2 separate regions of the Homo sapiens genome follow, and region 2 is linked to region 1. The links are contacts of gene promoters, found by promoter capture Hi-C in blood cells and fetal thymus (Javierre and others, 2016). All regions are on one chromosome and are shown on one strand. The core of a region is centred on a gene start or on the middle of the fragment in contact, and the rest is flanking DNA. Distances in the headings are between cores, read along the strand shown. Region 1 holds the start of PEMT (phosphatidylethanolamine N-methyltransferase). Region 2 overlaps ATPAF2 (ATP synthase mitochondrial F1 complex assembly factor 2).

The links. The method cuts DNA at HindIII sites, captures the fragments that hold promoters and counts their contacts. A CHiCAGO score of 5 or more calls a contact.
Region 2: a fragment that was not itself captured here is called in contact with the fragment with the promoter of PEMT in region 1 in 3 of 17 cell types (naive CD4 T cells, non-activated CD4 T cells and total B cells); the score reaches 6.2 in naive CD4 T cells.

What each region holds. Positions count from the first base shown.
Region 1 is chr17:17,587,866-17,593,895 of GRCh38, forward strand. It overlaps PEMT (phosphatidylethanolamine N-methyltransferase), which reads right to left and starts at 3,843. Exons shown (of 7, transcript NM_148172.3): 1 at 3,666-3,843. The coding sequence starts at 3,761. RefSeq lists enhancers at 3,288-4,029, 3,595-3,984. The HindIII fragment of the contact is 3,820 bases long and covers 2,911-6,030 here.
Region 2 is chr17:18,031,431-18,037,460 of GRCh38, forward strand. All of the region lies in intron 1 of ATPAF2 (ATP synthase mitochondrial F1 complex assembly factor 2), which reads right to left. Among named protein-coding and RNA genes, the nearest start is that of ATPAF2, 4.7 kb to the right of the region's middle. The HindIII fragment of the contact is 2,164 bases long and covers 2,038-4,201 here.

The DNA.
Region 1 (6,030 bases), core at 2,593-5,092:
AGAGCGAGACTCTGTCTTAAAATAAATAAATTAATTAAATCAAATGAAACCAGATAAAGAAAGAAGATCCCCCCAAAAATTAGAGCAAATCAAATCCAGCAATATATACAAAGGATAATATGTTAGGACCAGCCAGAGATCACCCCAGGAATCCAGAGCTAGTTCAACATTCAAAACATCAATGGAATTCATATTTACAGCTTAATGAGGAAAAACAGTGTCATCTCAACAGAGGCAGGGGAAACAAGCTCCAAGAGTTTCTGTCATTGTTTTGATGAGCAGCCACGGAAAGCCTCAACCCTGCTCTGTCTTGGCTGATGCCAAAATTACTGAAGACAAAATGTACGGCCTTGAAAACACCACAGAGTAACTCATCTAATATAACGGCCTAATGTTTATTTCAACTAAAGTAATACAATCAAAAGATTTTTGGAAACGATTTTGGATAAAGGCAAACATTTTTCCCTGAAAGGCAGTCAAGATACCCCGCATCGGCCATCGGAGCTTTGCCTCCAGGGTCTTACTCGGGTGCCCATATTACACACAGGGACCTGTGTCCCCTGCCCCAGGTCTCTCAGCCTTCTGAATACAAGGGCTTTGCCTTCTTGAGGACCACCCTTAGGTGGGCTGCACTCGATACTTCATAAAGCTTTACACCCCTCATCTCATTCTGGTCTTCACCATAACCCCCTCACTGTCCCCATTCTTCTTGACACCAACACCAAGCTGGAGACATCATCACTCACCCGCTCTGGTGAGCAGGTGATTCGCTATGGAAAAGGGACCTGAGACCTGGGCATGTGCCCTTGCTCTGAGGACCTCAGTGTGCTCTGCCAGCCTGGGTGCCCGCACCCCTAGGCCCTACTGGAGTCATCTTCTGAATCCTGGAGGTGCCCCGGCCTGTGGACAGCAAGATGCAGACCCTGCTCTCATCCATCTGCCACCCCACTGCCTTCAGGCAGCTGCCCAGCTGAGGAGCAAGGCTCCAGAATCCTGACAGGGAGGGCAACAAGGAGCAAAAGGGCCTTAGTCAGTGGGGCTGCAGCGGGCACACTCCTCACCCTAACTCCTCAGCCCAATGGCTGATTCTTTGGGTTGTTTGTTTTTGTTTTGAGACAGAGTTTCGCTCTTCTAGCCCAGGCTGGAGTGCAATGGCGTGATATCAGCTCACTGCAACCTCCACCTACGGGGTTCAAGTGATTCTCCTGCCTCAGCCTCCCGAGTAGCTGGGATTACAGGCATGTGCCGCCACGCCTGGCTAACTTTTTATATTTTTAGTAGAGATGGGATTTCTCCATGTTGGTCAGGCTGGTCTCAAACTCCCGACCTCAGGTGATCCACCTGCTTTGGCCTCCCAGAGTGCTGGGATTACAGGCGTGAGCCACCGTGCCCAGCCCCAACAGCTGATTTTTTTTTTTTTTTTTTTAAAAACAAAAGCAAGATTCTGTACCTGCTGAAGCAGGCCCAGAAAAGAGCTGGTGGAGGGCATGGTACCCAGAGCAGCACTGTTTGGTATGACATGGCAGCCACTGGTCACAGGCAGTGCCACAAGCTTGGAATGCCACAGGACAAAATATGTCTGATATATATTTTGGTAACAATAAAATATATTGTCAAAATTATTTTTCTATTTCTTTGCTATTTTCCATTTCTTCTCACTAATTTAACATGGCTACTAGAAAGGTTTAAATTATGCATGTGGCACACGATGTTTCTACTGGACAGCACAGCAGCACAGGGCTAGCACCGGAGATCCTGCAGCTCAGACGCCCATGGGGTGAACAAAAACCTTGCAACTCTCCCAGGCCAGGGACTGACATATTTTAAAACCGGAGATTTTGATTGAGGAGGGAGTAGAGCTACCACATAAGCAAATATGTAATGTTGTATGTTGTATGTTTCTTTCTTTCTTTCTTTAAGAAAAATCCCTTGGCAACAGGAAGCTTAACTGCACCAACAAGGACAGCAGAAGAAAAGCAGAATGTTAGTCAACAAGGGTCACCCTGACCCGAACCCCAGCCCCAGCTCTCTCCAGCTGCACAGCCCTGGGGAGAAAGGAGAAAGAGCAGAGAAGCCCACCCCTCACACACCCGGTTAGTCTCCCCTGCCCACTGGCAGGCCCTGGGGCAGGCCCCTAGATGGGTCTGCAAAGGGACACTGCCCCCTTGCATTCTGCCCCCCCTTCTACATGGCTCCCCCACCCACCCTTCTACACGGTGGCTTCTGAGGGCAGCCCCTGGAGGTGATCATGACCCCCCATCTTGATCTGAGGATTAACAGATACAGGTTCACCTGGTGAAAATGCAGGAGCTGTAGGGGTAGGACCCATCACTCATCTGACTGCATGTTGTAATTCAATGGACAGTTTACTAAAGTAATAGTCTTCTTCCTGTCCTCTGCTGAGCACCCATCTGGCCAACGGTCCTGCGCTCCCTCAGGGCCAGCGGCCCATCTCCTCCTGTGCCTCCTGGAGGGCTTCGCAACTGCCTCCCTCCTCTGGGGAATCTTGCCCCACTGACTGACCTTTCGGCTCTCAGATCCCAGGTCCCTCCCTCGCAGATACGGCAACAGGCTCTCTTGGGATTTCAATCCCGCCTTCCCATCAGCTACTCTTCAAAACACTAACTGGTATTAGCTCCTTCAGAGAACTCTCTGGCTTTCCAGGCCTACAATCTCCCTCCCTAGAATGAAAGCTCAGTGACAGAAGTGCCCTTAAACTTCTGAGTGACACGAGGCCCTCAGCCGGCCCTGAATCAATACTGGCTGGATCAGTGAGTGAATAAATGCACATGTGAGTAAGGAATGAAGGGAGCGAAAGAACTGGATTAGAAGCTGCTTGGGGCAGAGATGTGCCTTACAGGCTTCATGAAGAGTGGGTGATGAAAAAGGTAAATGGAGCATCTAAGAGGAAGCTTTGATAGAAGGGAGAATGCAAGAGAGGTTGGAAATTGGAATCCATTGGAATTGGGAGCCTGGGGAGATGCCAGGACAGGCACTCTCTGGCCTAGGACTCTGCAGAGGGCAGCCTCAGCAGGCAAGCCAGGCCCCCAGCTTCTGGGGCCGGTCGCACCCATTATGGCCCCGAAACGGCTGGGTGGTGGTCTGCAGCCTGCCCAGGGCCGGCTGGGAGACAGGCAGGGTCCCCACCACTCTCTTGCCTCTGGGCAAAAGCTGGCCTCCTGACCCTGGGGGATGGACGGGAGCAGGGGCCACACAACACACTCCCAAACATATAATCGGCCTCCTTCACCCTCGCCCACGCTCAGTCACACACAGCCTCGGTCATACACACTCACACTCACTCTCCGGCACACTCTCAGAGCATCACATAATTTCAGTGAGACACAATCCCAAAGACTAACACGGACAACCTCTGAGTCTCACACAATCTCAGGGCCACACACAGGCACACAATCAGACGAGCTCAGGAACGCCCCCGTCTCTGACACACGCAATCTGAGGTTTACACGCGCGCGCACACGCACACACACAGACACCAGCCGGCGCTCCCGCACGCGGCTCCCCCACCCCCGCCACGCCACGCCCCCATTGCCTGGGAACTGGCGGCCCCGCCCCGCAGCGTTTGAGGCGCCGCAAGCCTTCACGCCCCTCGGGCCTTGCAGATCCCTCTCCCAGTTTCCGCGGCGGTCCGGTGCGGTCAGTACCTGTCTAAAATCAATATTGCCGAGGCCTCCGCAGCAGTCAGGCCCTGCCACCGAGCTGTTCGTTACCTCGGCTCCCGGGTTCCCAGATCTCTTCATCCGGGGGCCGCCTCAGGAGGCACCACGCGGGCCCCGCTGCAGCCACGCGCCCCCGGAACCGGACCTATAGAGCCGGGTAAGTGCCGCCAGTCGGGGCGCTTTCCCGGTGACCCCCAACATATTCCGGCCTTCTGGGAAATGTAGTTCCCCGTCACCGCGAAGTGCCTCTTTATCTGGGGGCTCGCGACAGCGTCTAGAGGAGCCGAGAACTACAAGTCCCAGTGTGTTTCGCCGCAGAGCCTGCCGGTTCCGCTGCAGCTACGTAGCAGTATCCCCTTGGATCCGGCCTCCCGCCCAGTGCCTTTGGTCGCCGGCTGCCGCACCCGAGCCTGTAACTGACCTGGCGTCCCTGCCCTTGCCTGGCGGCGGTGGGGCTAGAGGCCGGGGGCCGCGGGTCGTAGCTATAAGCAGCTTCCCGCGCAGCCTCCTGCGGACTTGGACTTGGCCCGGGTCACACACGCCCAGGGCCCCACACGCCCAGGGCCCCACGCCCTCTTCTGAAATTCGCTTTACTCTGGGGGCGGTGCGCGACGAGCACTGCCTAGAGCTTCCCGCCCCCGCGGCGCCCAGGCTCTTTAGCTCGGCCAAAGACCCCTCCTCCACTCATTTTTTCCTTCATTCATTCTCTCATTCACTCTCGAGTATTTTCTGAACCAGACTGTGCGCTGAGGGTACGGTAGGGAACAACACAGAGTCCCCCGCCCTCGCTTCCTCCTGACTGAGATAAAAGACAAAATGTGAATAAAGGGTTATAATATGGATGAGTACTGTGGTGGAAAAAACGGGGTGGGTCAAATGGTACGGAAGGATGCTGTCTTAGAATGTGCAGGGGAGGTGCCAGATGTGCCAAGTGTGAGGGCAGGGCAAACAAGGCAAGACGAATGGTATGTACAAAGGCCTGGAGACAGGACGGGCACCTAAGGAACAGAGAAAAGACCGGTGAGCTGTGGAGTAGTGATGGAGGGGGTCAAATGGAGAAGAGTTTAGACGATCGGGTCCCAGAAGAACCCCTTTTGTAGGCCGGGTGTGGTGGCTCATGCCTGTAATCCCAGCACTTTGGGAGGCCGAGGTGGGCGGATCACCAGAGGTCGGCAGTTCGAGACCAGCGTGACTAACACGGTGAAACCCCGTCTCTATTAAAAATACAAAAAATAGCCGGGTGTGGTGCGCGCACCTGTAATCCCAGCTACTCAGGAGGCTGAGGCAGGAGAATCGCTTGAACCCAGGAGGTGGAGGTTGCAGTGAGCGGAGATGGTGCCATTGCATGCCAGCCTGCGCGACAGAGCGAGACTCCCTCTCAAAAAAGAAAAAAGCCCTTTTGTAGCCAGGTGTTATGTAATATGGGGAAATAGACTGAGAGGTTCCAAGATTTGCTCAGTCACCCAGACTGCTGGGGGCCCAGACAGGACTTCTGCAGTCAGCTGCTTCCTGCTCCAGATGGCCCGTTTCTCTCCACCTTGGCCCACAGCACCTACCAGTGTTGAGCATTTACTGAGCAGCCACTGTGTGCTGCTTTAGAGGTAGTCCCAATCTTCACAACATCGCTAGGATGGGGCAGGCCAACCGAGGAGACAGGAAAGACACTGGCTTTGGAGCATGCACTATCTCTGTGACTGAGCCCACCTTCATTTTCCTCAAAAGTAAAAGGGAAATACATGTTGGTAAAACTCATCACCCAGGAACTGGCCTGTGGGAAGTGCTCAGTAGGCATTGGCCCCCGGCAGGGCTGGGGACACAGGCTCAGGGCTGGTTCTCTGACTTACCACTGTTACTAATGAGTGTCGGGACCCTTTCCCTGCTCAGTGTCCAGGCAGAGCTGCTAGAGGCAGAGCCATTTCTGAAGGAGCCCCCCGCAGCGGGAGGGCTTCTAGCAAGTCTTTCCCCTCCGCCTACCACACATCCACTTCACTGATGTTCCAGTCTTCTGACCTAACTGGTCACTCCTGTTTTGTTAAGCCCAGAAAACAAATTTTTGTGCGTTTGCTTTATCTGAGAACAAAGTAAGGCAACCGTAAGAGGTCACACCAGAACTGATGCAGTCCGATCCTCTACTCCAGCCTACCCAACCTGGGCCACCCTTCCTCTGTGAAAAGCAAACACCCCACCCAGGAGACAGACTTGCAGCTTGAAACAAGTCAGATAAAAACCTCCTGCCTGGCTCACACCTGGAATCCCAGCACTTTGGGAGGCCGAGGCAGGCGGATCATGAGGTCAGGAGTTCAAGACCAGCCTGACCAACACAGTGAAACCCCGTCTCCACTAAAAATAC
Region 2 (6,030 bases), core at 1,870-4,369, 440 kb after region 1:
TCTACCATGTGTCTTGGCACTTGGGATACAAGAGTGAATAAAATAGACAGAGTTTAAAGTGTTTTTTTAGGCCAGGCGCGGTGGTCACGCCTGTAATCCCAGCACTTTGGGGGGCTGAGGCGGGCGGATCACGAGGTCAGGAGATTGAGACCATCCTGGCTAACACAGTGAAACCCCATCTCTACTAAAAATACAAAAAATTAGCCGGGCGTGGTGGCGGGCGCCTGTAGTCCCAGCTACTTGGGAGGCTGAGGCAGGAGAATGGCGTGAACCCGGGAGGTGGAGCTTGCAGTGAGCTGAGATCGCACCACTGCACTCCAGCCTGGGTGACAAAGCAAGACTCCATCTCAAAAAAAAGAAAATAAAGTGTTTTTTTAGGATCAGATCTGTCCACCAAGATGATGTTGTCTTACTATGGCACCTTCATCTGAAATCACAACACTGATTATCTCATACGTTTGACACTAAAATTAGAAGTTTACAGCACCCTACTGCTTTTAAATTTCTCTACATGCTGTCCTGGTCATATCCAAATGGCAGGCTAGACATGGGTCTGGAGGCCTCCTTTCCTCTCTCAGGTCTGGAGTGAGGTAGACCATGTCCTTTGTGTTTTCCAATGCAACAGGCTGGGCTGCATGTATAAAAGCCAGGCCAGGCAGGAAGTTGGGAAGGGCTCTGAAAGCTCTGACTCAACACTGGGGAAAGGGTCTTCCCATGTCAGCAGGAAGAGCCAGCAGAGTGTACAAATGTACAAGAGTGAGCACTCTAGCATACTTCCAGGCCCGGTCTGGGAAGTGAACCCAAGAGACCTGGGGCAGACGAACAGACTCAAGGCAGGAACTGCCAGCACAGGGCTGAACCTTCAAAAGCTCCTGGGACAGCCAGGTTTCCCAAGAGGGAAGTCTTTTTTCTGTTTTGTTGGCCAGGCTCACTTCTGTAACTGAATAAGAAAAAACTAGATGGGAGTGGGATAGATGGAGGGCAGGGAAGAAGCCACCAAAAATTTCTCCAAGCAGAAGAAAACCATGCAGAAAATGAGACGGCAGAAGGGCAAAAGAAGCCCAGGGGCCGCCAGGCCTCAGATTAGAAGGCAGGTGCACATAGATGTGTTTTAGCCAGGGGCTCTCCTGAATGACCCACTGACACTTGGAGGGGCAAACGTGTCTTGGAACAAGCTTTGGTGAGTACTGATCATGTTCCAGGACATACAAGTCCTGGGGATGGGACATGTGCAAAGCTCATCTCTGCACTCTCCAGCCATTTACTGTCTAGTAGGAATACAGACACTAAACCAGGCAAACAATAAGGTGACTTCTGTGATGGGGCAGGCACGTGGAACGATTAGTCAGAATTAAATTGCAACTTGAAGGTGAGGCAGGAGGTACCAAACTTTCTGATTGATTCAATTTTTTTTTTTTTTTTTTGGCAGAGCAGGGCTGTGGAAGTAGTTTCCAGATGAAGAAACAGGTTGCATGAAGGACCAGGGTTTCTAGAGAGCAGTTGTGGACTAGACAGATGGTCAGAAGGAGAATGCAAGATTCTCTAAGATGCTAGAGAGGGCAATGGGGCCACATATGGGGGACATGTAGATCACTGCAAAGACAGCAAAGGGAGCCAAGTAAAGGCTCCACACAGGCATACAGGAACTTGATCTGGGGCCGGGCATGGTGGCTCATGCCTGTAATCCCAGAACTTTGTGAGGCCGAGGGGGACAGATCACTTAAAGCCAGGAGCTCAAGAGCAGCCTGGCCAACATGGTGAAACCCTGTCTCTACAAAAAATTAAAAAATTGGCGAGGTGTGGTATTGCCTGCCTGTAATACCAGCTACTCAGGAGGCTGAAAATCAGTTGAACCCAGGAGGCGGAGGTTGTAGTGAACCAAGATTGCGCCACTGCACCCCAACCAGGGTGACAGAATGAGACTCTGTCTCAAAAAAAAAAAAAAAAAAGAACATGATCTGGACAATTCGTTTGGGGGATCCATGTTCCCCAACAATGTCACATAAGACAAAATGTGAGACCACCAGAAACCTATGAAGCTTCCATGTTCTCGGTGAATACATGGTTAGCAGACATCAATGGTAACCCTGTCTTTAAAGATGAAAAAAATCAGCCTAGCTTTGTAGGATCATGCAGAACTGGCCTTTCCTTTAGAAAGATTACCAGCCTCAGGAACCACAACTCCCACAGTGCACCAAGAAGAGGAAGTACTGGTTTCAGAGCTGTCTCAGTGCCTTTATCTTTTAAAACAGTGCCATCTGGTGGGCCTTAAACCTTAAAGGTGAAATTCTAACTCCAGGGCCATCTGTAATCCTAGGGCGGCTCTAACCAACTCTTTTCAGGTATCAAAATTCTTCAGCCCAAATACATAAAGAACTCTTACGACTCAATAACAAAAAGACAAATAGGCTGGGCATGGTGGCTCGAGCTTGTAATCCCAGCACTTTGGCTGGCTGAGGCAGGTGGATCACTTGAGTCCAAGAGTTCAAGACCAGCCTGAGCAACATGGCAACACCCTGTCTCTACAAAAATACAAAAATTAGCCAGGCATGGTGGCACGTGCCTGTAGTCCCAGCTACTCAGGAGGCTGACATGGGAGGATCACCTGAGCCTGGGAGGTTGAGGCTGCAGTGAGCCATGAACACACCCCTGCACTCTAGCCTAGGCAACAGACCGAGGCCCTGTCTCAAAAACAACAACAAATAACCCAATTTAAAAATGTTCAAGTCTGAGAGACCGAGGTGGGAAGATTGCTTGAGTCCAGGAGTTTGAGACCAGCCTGGGCAACATAGCAAGACCCTGTCTGTACAAAAAAATTTTAAAGTCAGCTGGGCATGGTGGCACACACCTGTAGTTCCCAGCTACTTTGGAGGCTGAGGTGTGAGGCTCGCTTGAGCCCAGGAGGTTGAGGCTGCAGTAAGCTGTAACTGAGCCACTTGCACTACAACCTGGGTGACAGAGCAAGACCCCCTCTCTTTAAAAAAAAACAATGGTCAAGGGATCTGAATAGACGTTTCTTCAAAGAAAATATACAAATAGCCATTAAGCACGTGAAAAGATACTCAACATAATTCATCAGAGAAATGCAAATCAAAACCACAATGAGATACCACTTCAAACCCTTTAGGACAGCTGTAATAAAAAAGACAACAACAAGTGTTGAGATATAGAGAAACTGGACCCCTCAAACACTGCTGGTGGAAATGTGAAATGGCACAGCCACCTTGAAAAACAGTCTGGCAGATCCTCCAAAAGTTAAACAGAGTTACCATTTGACCCAGTAATTCTACTCTTAGGTATATGTCCAAGAGAAATGAAAACATATGTCCACACAAAAACTTGTACATGAATGTTCATAGTAGCGTTATTCATATTAGCCAAAAGGTAGAAACGACCCTGTGTCCACCAATGGATGAATGGATAAGTAAAATGTGGCATATTTACACATACAATGGAATATTGTTTGGCAATAAAGAAGAATGGAGTCATTGATACATGATACAAGGTGGATAAAACTTAAAAACGTTTGGTCATGGTGGCTCACTCCTGTAATCCCAGCACTCTGGAAGGCCGAAGCAGGAGGATCACTTGAGGCCAGGAGTTTGAGGTCAGCCTGAGCAAGACCCCATCTCTACAAAGCACTAAAAAGCTAGCCGGGCATGGTGGTGTGTGCCTGTAGCCCTAGCTACTTGGGAGGCTGAGGCAGGAGGATCACTTGAGCCCAGGAGTTTGAGGTTACAGTGAGCTGTGATCGTGCCACTACACTCCAGCCTGGGCAACAGAATGAGACCCAATCTCTTAAAAACAAAAAAAAACAAAAAAAACCCAAACTTTAAAACATTATGCTAAGTGAAAAAGTCAGTCAAAAAAGACCACATTCTATTTATATAAAATGTCCCAAACAGGGAAATCTATAAAAGAACAAAGGAAAGTAGTAGTTGCCAAGGGATGGAAGTAGTAAGGGTGGATGATAGCTAAAGGGTGCAGGTTTCTTTTAAGGGTGATAAAAATGTTCTAAAATTGATTGTGGCAATGGCTGTACAATTCTGTAAATATACTAAAAACTATTATATTTACACTTCAAGTAAATGAATTGTATAGCAAGTAAATATCTCAATAAAGCTGTTAAAAAAATCCTTCAGGCCAAATGTATAACATTTAGCAAACTTTTTCTGCAAAGAATCAGATAGTAAATATTCTAAGCTTTGCAAGCCATACAATATCTGTTCCAACTATTCAACTCTGCCACTGTAGTGAAAGTAGCCATAGATGATATGTAAATGAATGCATGTGGCTGTGTTCCAATAAAACTCTATTTACAAAAACAGGTGGCAGGCTGGACCCTGATCTACAGACTACATAATCTCCCTCAATCCACACCACTATTCTATGAGGATGACAAGGCAGCTAATGCCTCGGAGGTGATAGAGAAGCTAAACATCTTGTCTTGGTGACAGACAACTGGTAAATAGCAGAGACAAGACTTCTAGCCTTGACTTCATCAGGCAGTTGCATTCAGCCAGATACGCTGAATAGATAGGTTTCTCCAGAACACCTGCCACTCTGGGAGTCAATAGACCTCTGATAAGCTGGTGCAGAACTAAACTGCCACAACAACCTCATATAGGTCTTCTTGTTGCAATATCTCCTTCTCCAACACCTCAGTGACCCTTTCGTAAACTCCTCCTCTCCTTCTGATAACCTTCAATGGCATGGCCATTCCTAAGTGGCCAAGTTCAATCAGCTTGCTGACTGAAGTGTTCATTGAGAAGAACCCACTGCGGTTTAATCTTCTACTACTTCAAATACGCACAAATATCTCACAACTGGTAAGGTCTTTAGAGAGAACACGTGGGGGTCGGGGGCCGGGCGCGGTGGCTCATGCCTGTAATCCCAGCACTCTGGAAGGCTGAGGAGGGTGGATCATGAGGTCAGGAGATCGAGACCATCCAGACTAACATGGTGAAACTCCGTCTCTACTGACAATACAAAAAAATTAGCCAGGTGTGGTGGTGGGCACCTGTAGTCCCAGCTACTCGGGACGCTGAGGCAGGAGAATGGCGTGAACCCGGGAGGCGGAGCTTACAGTGAGCCAAGATTGCGCCACTGCACTCCAGCCTGGGTGACAGTGCAAGACTCTGTCTCAAAAAAAAAAAAAAGCATGCATGGGCCTGATTTATGCACCTCCCTTCTCATTCATTCATTCCTATTTTCTTTCACATTTGACTACCTACCATGTGCCAGGTACTTCCAAGAGCCTAACTAGTAAGTTTAGGCTTTTTAAAAAGGAAAAGAAGGCAGTAGATCAAGTGCCACCATTATGTAAAGTGAGCATCCACAAATCTAAATTAACCCTTTGTGGTCAGGCATGGTGGCTCACGCCTGTAATCCCAGCATTTGGGAGGCTGAGGCGGGAGGATCACCTGAGGTCAGGAGTTCATGACCAGTGTGGCCAACATGGTGAAACCCCATCTCTACTAAAAATACAAAATTAGCCACGTGTGGTGGCGGACACCTGTAATCCCAGCTACTTGGGAGGCTGAGGCAGGAGAATTGCTTGAATCTGGGAGGTAGAGGTTGCAGTGAGCCAAGATCACACCATTGCATGCCAGCCTGGGTGACAAGTGTAAAACTCCATCTCAAAATAAATAAATAAATACGTAAATAAATAAATTAATTAACCCTTTGCTTTTTGCCAACTTGGTGAACTCCTGAATGTGTCCCCTTTGCTATGCCTCCCTGGGATGCCCTTCCTTTCTCTTCTTTACTGGCCCTTCATGGCCCATTTCCAGGCCCTTCCCCTGAGTCCTGCAGGTGAAACTTCAGCTCCCTGCTGCATCCAGCCCCCTTCCCCATTTCTATAAAGTTATAGAACTTGGCTGGGCGCGGTGGCTCACGCCTGTAATCCCAGCACTTTGGGAGGCCGAGGTGGGCGGGTCACAAAGTCAGGAGTTCGAGACCAGCCTAGTCAATATAAACCCCATCTCTACTAAAAATACAAAAATTAGCAGGGCATGGTGGCAGACGCCT